Linked DNA regions of Homo sapiens: region 2 is linked to region 1. The links are contacts of gene promoters, found by promoter capture Hi-C in human tissues and cell types (Jung and others, 2019). All regions are on one chromosome and are shown on one strand. The core of a region is centred on a gene start or on the middle of the fragment in contact, and the rest is flanking DNA. Distances in the headings are between cores, read along the strand shown. Region 1 holds the start of ALDH1B1 (aldehyde dehydrogenase 1 family member B1). Region 2 holds the start of TOMM5 (translocase of outer mitochondrial membrane 5).

Evidence for each region. The method cuts DNA at HindIII sites, captures the fragments that hold promoters and counts their contacts. A contact is called where the count stands out against the background at its distance.
Region 2: the fragment with the promoter of TOMM5 here is called in contact with the fragment with the promoter of ALDH1B1 in region 1 in 4 of the 25 tissues and cell types used here (heart left ventricle, lymphoblastoid cells, mesendoderm cells and 1 more).

The regions. Positions count from the first base shown.
Region 1 is chr9:38,391,429-38,395,740 of GRCh38, forward strand. It overlaps ALDH1B1 (aldehyde dehydrogenase 1 family member B1), which reads left to right and starts at 1,274. Exons shown (of 2, transcript NM_000692.5): 1 at 1,274-1,379; 2 at 4,312. RefSeq lists a silencer at 1,041-1,360 and enhancers at 1,571-1,620, 1,661-1,750. The HindIII fragment of the contact is 12,047 bases long and covers 1-4,312 here.
Region 2 is chr9:37,590,453-37,594,862 of GRCh38, forward strand. TOMM5 (translocase of outer mitochondrial membrane 5) reads right to left here and starts at 2,145. Exons shown (of 2, transcript NM_001001790.3): 1 at 1,960-2,145. The coding sequence starts at 2,080. RefSeq lists an enhancer at 1,742-2,501 and silencers at 3,460-3,754, 4,154-4,223. The HindIII fragment of the contact is 28,692 bases long and covers 1-4,410 here.

The sequences.
Region 1 (4,312 bases), core at 24-2,523:
TATGGACGTGGCCCACCAGCCTCGTGCCTGTCTGAGGCTACTTCAGACACCCTCCTGCAGCCTCCATTCAAAGAGCAGGAAGCCAGGTCAAGGAGCGGCTACAGCCACAGCGGCCGGTCCACAGCCAGAAAGCTGGAGAAGGGACAAGGAATGCTGCCGCAGAACATCTCCCATTTCTGCTATCCTGCTAGTGCCACCCTACAGGGGCAGGACAATACCCTCCAATGCGTGCCCGCCTTCCACATCCGGCAGAGTACTACTAATTGGCAGCACCTAGTCCACATCCAGAACTCTAACTGCAAATGAGGCTGGGAAACATGGCGGTTAGCTTTGGGACCTCCCTAGCCAGAAGGAAGGTGCAGCGAGGGTGGAGCGAGTGAGATGCATGTTCAGTGGTCCATCTTGGCAACCTTTATAGCAACAAAATGGAGACAATTAAATGTCCAACAGTTTACCCCTACAACAGAATTCTATGCCACCTTGGAGAGGATGATGTCATCTGTAATTAGTGATAGGAGAAAACTTCAAAATACAGCGCTAAGTTTTTAAATTTTTTTTAAAGCAGCACAACAGAGGTTACTATATGATTTTATTTTTATTAAAATAATTTTGAAAGATGCAGAGGAAACAATACTAGCAGGACGAACACCGTAATAATGGCTACCGTAGGTGAAGAGATTACAGGTGATATTTTTCTTCTTTTTTCATCCTTTCCTGTGTTTTCCAAGCTTTCTACACTGTGCATACATTCTTTTTGTCCTTAGGACAAAAATGTACTTTGAAAAATGCCCAAATATAAAATCTTCTTGAAGGAACTGAAGAAAGGAGCAGTGAAAGTGGAGGACAGAAATTAGTGAATCCTGGACAAAAAAAGTGAGGGAGAGGCGAGGCAGAGAAGGGGTTAAGGGGAGTCTCAAGGATGGCAGTCGATTAAGCAGCGTCTTGCAGCGGGGAGAAATGCAAAGTGTAGTTGGGGTTCGGTCTCCGAAAACTTTGCTGTGTGACCTGGGGAAGCCCCTGCCCCTCTCTGGGTATCTCTGTTTCCGCTCCCAAACCAGTGCCTTAGGAGCCTAGATCTGAGCAACGTGGACACTGGGCTTGCGGAGACCCGAGGGAGGGAGCGCTGAAGCGGTGCGGGCTGCCGGGGGTAGAGGGGCGGGGACCGGGAAAGACCGGGCGGGGCGAGGGAGGAGCGGCCTTGGCCGGCGACAGGACGTAGGCAGCGCCCCAGGCGCAGGCGGAGCCTCATTGGCCGCTGAGCCCCGGGCTGCGCGGAGGCGGGACCTGCGGCCAGCCCTGGGCGGCCATGTGGACAGAGCTGGGAGGGCCGGAACCAGAACCCAAGCGTGATCCTGAACCGGAGCCCGAGCCTGCTGCAGGTAACTAACGCTGGTCTCCCCTCGGCTCCCTCGGGAAGCCGCAGCTCCTGGCTCCGCGTGGGGGCTTTCCTCTCTGGGCCGCGGCGTCCGCATCTGGGGGCTGGCCTTTCCGCCGTTGCACTGTAGGACTCTCTCCACGTCCCCTAATCCCATCCCCCGCCTCTGGGTGACGCTACAGGAGCCCCGAGGACACAGACGCCCCCAGACCTTACCACGTTAGCTCGACCTCAACACTCCTGCCCACTCGGCCCACTTCAACAGAGGGCCCCTGACCATAGCCCAGAGGCTTGGACAAGCCCAAAGGTTGCGCCCTTTCCCCCGCAGAAGGGGTGAGGTGGGCGCCGCTGCAGTTCCCGCGGATAGAGAAGGTCCGGTCCTTCCCGCTGTGGGTGAACTGTAAAAAATTGCCTGTATTCAGGAGGATATGCAAAGCTAGGTTTGTGGAAGTCTGGGGTGAGGCTCCTATACTTTCTTGCTGTGTGTCCTCGGTGAGTCCCTGAACCTCTCTGATGCCCAGCCTTCTTCCAGAATGGGGGTCATCATCAACCCTGACCACCCAGGGACTGCAGAGAGGCTTGGCAAATTTCCCGTGAGAAGACAGCCTGCAAACTGTAAAGCATGATGCTCTGTGAGCTGTGATCTTCCTATCAGCAAGTGGAGGCCCCAGCAAGAACCCCATATAGGCCCCAAGAGTAGGAACGGCCTTGGTGTGGCTGCAAAGGTTTGCCAGCCTTGGCCTATGACCACCTCTCCTGACTGCTTCACCCCTCCAATCCTTACCCCATGGGTTGGTGACTCCCCTTTCCCCTACCTCCTTTTGGTCTCCTCACCCTCAGAGCCAGGCCTGTTGGTGGCAAGGGGGCTGTGTCCCAGCATATGGCAAAGTCCTGAGCTAAATGGAACCCTGGGCACCCCTGGCAGATCTGCTGACTCAGCTTCCCCCTGTGGGATATGATGAGGTTTCTCTTCAAATAATCTGATCAATCTTTTATTCTTTAATTCTTAGTATCCCCCCCTTTTTTTTTTTCATTTTTCTCCTTTTTGCCTTTGTTAGATGCCCAGGCATGCCACAGTACCAAGCGTTATCAGTACCAGCTCACATTCCTTTGCTTATTTGGAAAGAAGACTAACTTTCTAGCTCATTACAGACACCCTTTCCCCTTTCTCTCCACTTTCTTTTACGTGCCCACTCTATCTAAAATAAATCAAATGTTTAGCCAACCGGGATTAGTTTAGATTGTACGACCTGACCCCAGCCAATGGGGAAAGGGTACAGGGGCAGGACTTGCATCAGGAATAAAGGCTCTCGTGCCCCTTTGTTCAGGTGTGCTCTCATGGCAACTGGCCAAGGAGGCATCCCTCTGCGCAGAAGTAAAATTGCTTTGCTAAGAATCCTGTGTTCGAGTGTTCAATTTCCTTAGGATTTTGAGCATTATTCCTAACACCCGCAAGGGGAAGGGAAACTTTCTTGGTCAGCATTGATTATTATTATTTTTTTTAGATACAGTCTTGTTCTGTTACCCAGGCTGGAGTGCAGTGGCACAATCATGGCTCACTGCAGCCTCAACCTCCTGGGCTCAGGTGATTGCCCCCACCTCAGCCTCCCAAGCAGCTAGAACTACAGGCATGCACCACTATGCTCGGCAAATTTATTTTTGTTTTTTTGTAGAGACACGGTTCTTGCTATGTGCTCAGGCTGGTCTCAAACTCCTGGCCTCAAGCAGTCCTTCCACTTCGGCCTACCAAAGCGTTACCAGCGTAAGCCACCACGCCCATCACATTGATTTTTATGGGGCCGGGGACCTACATGGAGCCTTGCTTTCCTGATTGAGTTTTTTGTTCCTCTCCCTGCCCAGGGGTGGAGGGTGAGAGGCTGGGGGTGAAGGGACAGGCAGGTGCAATTCCATTTTACCGCTGGGCGGAGCAAGACTCATGAGACATCAAAGGCAGAGAGATTCAAATTCTGACTGAAGAATAACTGCTTCAACTAATCTGGGAACACTACACTCTGTTTAATTTTCATTTAATATGTATTATATGCCGTTTAAGTTTTATAACAGTAGTTGTTTTAACGAAGTCTACACTCTTCAGAGTTGTAGCTTTTCTTCTCAGCTGCCTCCTGACTTGCTGCACCTCTGGGAAAGCTGAAAAGGGATGCTGAGACCTGTGGTTGGGGGATGCTGGGCTAGGTCAATTTCTGAGGCACGGCCAGTTCTGATGTCCTGAGTGGAGCTTGCCAGGGTTTTTATATGCAAGACATCATTCAACATAACCCCATGAGGCATTTCACATATGGGGGAACTGAGGCACAGAGGTGAAATGAAGCAAGTCCCTCTCAGAGAACAACCATCTCCAAGTCCCTTTGATTTCTACTCAAGTCTTAGGTCAATTCTTAGACAGCCTTTGTGGCAATTTCAGTGTTTTCTCAGTGTATCATTCAGTACTGTGTGTTGAGCCGCTGCTCTGTAGCAGGCATACCTCTAGGCTCGGGGACGTAGCAGTGAATGGAACAGAAAAATAAGTTCCTGTGCTCATGGAGCTTGCATTTTACTGGGGGGAGACAGACAAACATATAAGCCTGTAAAGATAGTATTTGGGATGTGAGATAGAGAAGGAGTAAAGCAGGGTAGCGGGGATAGAGAGTGTTGGGGTGGGAAGGGTTGCAATTTTTTAAAGGGTGGTCAGGGAAGGCCTTGCTGAGACAGTGGCTTTTGAGACCCAGCAGAGGTGAGGGAGTGAGCTGAGGATAGGCGGGACGTGATGGAGTTGGCCCAGAGAGTTCATCAGGGCCCTCACAGCTCTTACAGTCTGTGTTTTTAGAGGTGACAGTCCTTTATGCTGGAATCTTGAAATGTTTGAGCTGGTGGGCCCTTGGGTACCGCCACCTGCCTTCTCCCACCTGTTCACCCTGGTTTCTTTTGTCCCTCTCCAGA
Region 2 (4,410 bases), core at 895-3,394, 800 kb before region 1:
TAGATTAGTCGTTGTGAAAGGCTGGAGAAAAGGGGGAAATGGGGTAACAATGAATTCGTATGGTGTTTCTTCTAGGGGGAAAGAAAATACTGTCAAATTGTGATGGCTGCACAACTGACTGCTAAAAACCACTGAATTGTACACCTTAAATGGGTATATTGTATAATATACAAATTATATTTCAACTTAAAAGTGAAAATAAACAATTCATATCAAATACAAAGGTCACTGAGAAGCAGCAAATATTTCACTGGCAGCTAGATCAATGAAAAAGGCAGGAGGCAGGAAATAAGTAAATTTGGGAGTTGCAAGAAGCTGTTGAACTAGGATGATACGGGTGTTTCTGTTCCCCAAGACTCGCTCTTCTGTGAAAGCAGAGTAATACCATAGACAGTGAAAGAGACACAGAATAAGGGACATCTCAGTATCAGTGAGCTCTGGCCTAAGCCCAACATGAGCCTTCAATAGGATGACTTTGGTATGGCCTTCATTTATTTGAACCATCCCTGCCGCTCCATCCAGACTGGCTGGCCAATAATATACAGCAAGGAACAATGGAAAGGATACTGAATTGAGAACGAGAAGGCAGGGCATTCGAGAACTGATCATAAAGCTGCTTCCAGTTCTTATATTCAGTGTTCCTATAACTCTGATACCTTCCTTCCTTGCTAAGTCCCCTCTGAAAATCAAGTTCTCATTTGTAAAATGATATAAAGAATCTTAGGCCCTGCCTCCCTCAAAGGTCCACTGTCAAGACTATATAATGGGAGTAACTTCCTGTCAATTTTAAGATATAGAAAAAAAAACCTCAAATATTTGCATTAATCCTATAGACTCATATTCTTTTTTCCCATTTTTTTCCAAAAAACTAATGACTCACTTCACCCTCTATACAAAGAAACAGAAATGAAGCAAAACTTTTTGGATTTCAAAGGTCAGCACTTTTGAAAGGGAAGGAACCCGGCCGCTGGTTCACGCCTGTAATCCCAGCACTTTGGGAGGCTGAGGCAGGTGGATCACCTGAGGTCAGGAGTTCGAGACCGGCCTGGCCAACATGGTTAAACACCCATCTCTACTAAAAATACAAAAATTAGCCGGGCGTGGTGGCGCGCGCCTGTAATCTCAGCTACTTGGGAGGCTGAGGTGGGAGAATGGCTTGAACTCGGGAGGCAGAGGTTGCAGTGAGCCAAGACTGCGCCACTGCACTCCAGCCTGGGCAACAGGGCGTGACTGTGTATCGAGGAAAAAAAAAAAAAAGAAAAGAAAAGAAAGGGAAGGAACCTGGTACTGAGTTAAGAGTTCTGGATTTTAGGTCAAGATCATTCACTGAATCGCTGAGTGACCTTTGGCCAGCCTTCCCAAGAAGGCTGTTTCTTCCTTCTAGAACTATGGTTCTGTTTCTCTGTTTCTCTGTCTGCAAAAACGAGGGAGTTCCTCTAGGGATAATTACTTGAGCTCTTTCAGCTCAAACATTCTTTTTTTTGAGATGGAGTCTTGCTCTGTCACTCAAGCTGGAGTGCAGTGTCGCGATCTCGGCTCACTGCAACCTCCGCCTCCTGGATTCAAGCAATCCTCCCACCTTAGCCTCCCGAGGAGCTGGGATTACAGGCGCCCGCCACCACGAACTCCTGACCCCAAATGATCCGCCCGCCTCGGCTTCACAAAGTGCTGGGTGGGATTACAGGTGTGAGCCAACGCGCCCGGCAGCTCAAACATTCTTCAAGCTGGGAGAACCAGGATGATTAAACACGCGCGCCGGCCACCACGTGCACTTCAGTGCCCGGACCCTGACCCGCAGACCTCAAACCGCGCATATGCCCGTCGCCTTCAACGCGCACCCTCCTTGCTCCCCGCTACCGTTCAGCTCAGTTCGAAGGCCCCGATGACCCCTTAGAGTTAAGGGGTGCCCGTCGGTGAGCTCCCCGCTGGTCTCACAGTCACAGCCCGGGAGACACTCACTGACTCGCAGGAGGGCCACGTAGATGAGAAAGTTCCGTATGGAGGAGATCACATCCTCGCGCATCTTCCGTTTCATCTCCTCCGGGTCCAGCTTCGGCGCGAGGCCCTCAATCCGGAACATCGCGGCTCTGACTTAGCAGCTTCCAGCCGCCGCGCTCTGCTCTCCACGGTGGCCGCCTCGCGCCCGGAACTCGGCCTATCCTCACTTCCTGTTCCCGCCCTCTCGTTGCCACACTCGACGATGGATGCCTGCACGGGACAATCCACGTCCTGACCCAGCTGATCTGAAGTGCGGTGTGAAGCGGGCGGCCGCAAGCTCAGCAACGCAGGCTCTGGTTTCTCCACGCTGTCTTTAATAACATCTGTCATACAAAAATCAGCCCGGCTCGGTGGCGCGTGCTTACAATCCCAGCTACTCGGGAGGCTGAGGCAGGAAAATCGCTTGAACCCAGGAGGGGGATGTTGCAGTTAGCCGAGATCGCGCCACTGCGCTCCAGCCTGGGCGACAGAGCGAGCGAGACTCCGTCTCAAAATAATAATAATAATAATAATAATAACAACAACAATAACATCTATCTTGAGCCTGGAGCGCTGCGCTGTAAAGTGCTTTTACGCGCTGGAGGGGGCTGTGCACATAGGTACCACTGTAAACAGTGATAACTAACATTTATTGAATATTCAATATAATTGTCCCCCGTGAATTCGATATTATAATCTTCGTTTCCTAGATTAGACAATTGAAGCACAGAGATCTTTAAAACATCTTGCCCAAATGTGCTTTAATTTTTATTTATTTTTTTATTGCTAATTGTGGTGGTTGAGACTGTTCTGGAACTCCTGGGTTCCAGGATCCAAGCGATCCTCCCGCCTCGGCCTCCCAAAGTGCTGGGATTACAGGCGTGAGCTATCGCGCCTGGCCCCCAAATGTGCTTAAAAATACCTCAGAGGGGGAAAAAAGTATTGAGAGAGATAAGTGATGTCAGCAAAATATTAAAAACTGCTGGTGACTAGTACTTCATTTTAGTTAATTATTCTAGTCTTTCTTGAGTATGTTTGAAACTTTACATAAGTTAAAACAAAGAGACAAAGATGAAACTTTTTTTTTTTTTTTTTTTTTTTTGGAGACAGAGTCTCGCTCTGCCGCCCAGGCTGGAGTGCAGTGGCGCAATTTCAGCTCACTGCAACCGCTGCTTCCCAGGTTCAAGTGATTCTCCTGCCTCAGCCTCCTGAGTAGCTGGGATTACGGTTGCGCAGCACCACGCCTGGCTAAATTTTGTATTTTTTGTAGAGACGCGGTTTCACCATGTTGGCCAGGCTGGTCTTGGAAACTCCTGATCTCAGGTGATCTGCCCACCTCGGCCCCCAAAAGTGCCGTGATTACAGGCATGAGCCACCGCACCTGGCCTTTTTACAGATTATTGAAGCACAGAGGTCTTTAAAATACTGTTAGCCAAGTAACACAATATGTATAAAGCAAGTTCAAATCTGATCAGCATTTTACAGATGAATAGAAAGAGGCTCAGAAACCAAGTCCAGCTTTGGTGTGAAGCCCTTTATCTGGAACATCGCAGCTGAAGTCTAAAGTGCACTAAAGTCTAGTCATTCTGCTGGTGATGCACGGGCAGGGTTCTAATGCAGATAATTATCATGTCAAGTTGAATTATCTTTCCCCTGCACCCTACTGCTCATCTGTTAGTCTTTAACAGTTAGTGCCCACATGGATGGACATCGCTAGAGTCAAGAGTTTGATGCAACCAGATTTCCTGTCACAGAAGCATCCAAACAGAGTTAGTAGGCTGCTGCCCCAAGTTACGCATGCCAACTAGCCATATCTACTTCTTACACGCAAGCCAGATGACTGAATTGCTCACATAATTCAAAACCAGAATGTTCCTTCTTGACTGCATATTGCATAGCAACAATGGACTTTGGATAAATTAGGACAATAATTTACTATGAGAGCAACTAATAACTATATGCACGGTCAACTTTCTGGTTGACAGAATGTAAGGCACTGGGGCAAGAAAGGGAACTCATCTGCTTATTCCAGCTTTAGCAACCTTTTGCATCTGTAATTCATGCAATGGAATAGCAGAGGCAGCTCTGGAATGGGAGGGGCTGACTCCCAAGGAATAGCCTCCAGCCAACCCTTGGTGAGTGTTTAGAAAGCCTGCAGTGATGTTGAAAGCAGCAAGAACTGCGGAAAGAACATGAACAGGAACACTGGAGACATGGACTCTAGATCTGGCACTGCTGCCAACTAGTGGTGTGATGAGGGACGAGTATCTGATTTCACTGCAACTCCATTTCTTTCTTCTTCTTTATTTATTTATTTATTTATTTATTTTAGACTGAGTTTTGCTCTGTCGCCCAGGCTGGAGTGCAGTGGCGTGATCTTGGCTCACTGCAACCTCTGCCTCCCGGGTTCAAGCGATTCTCCTGCCTCAGCCT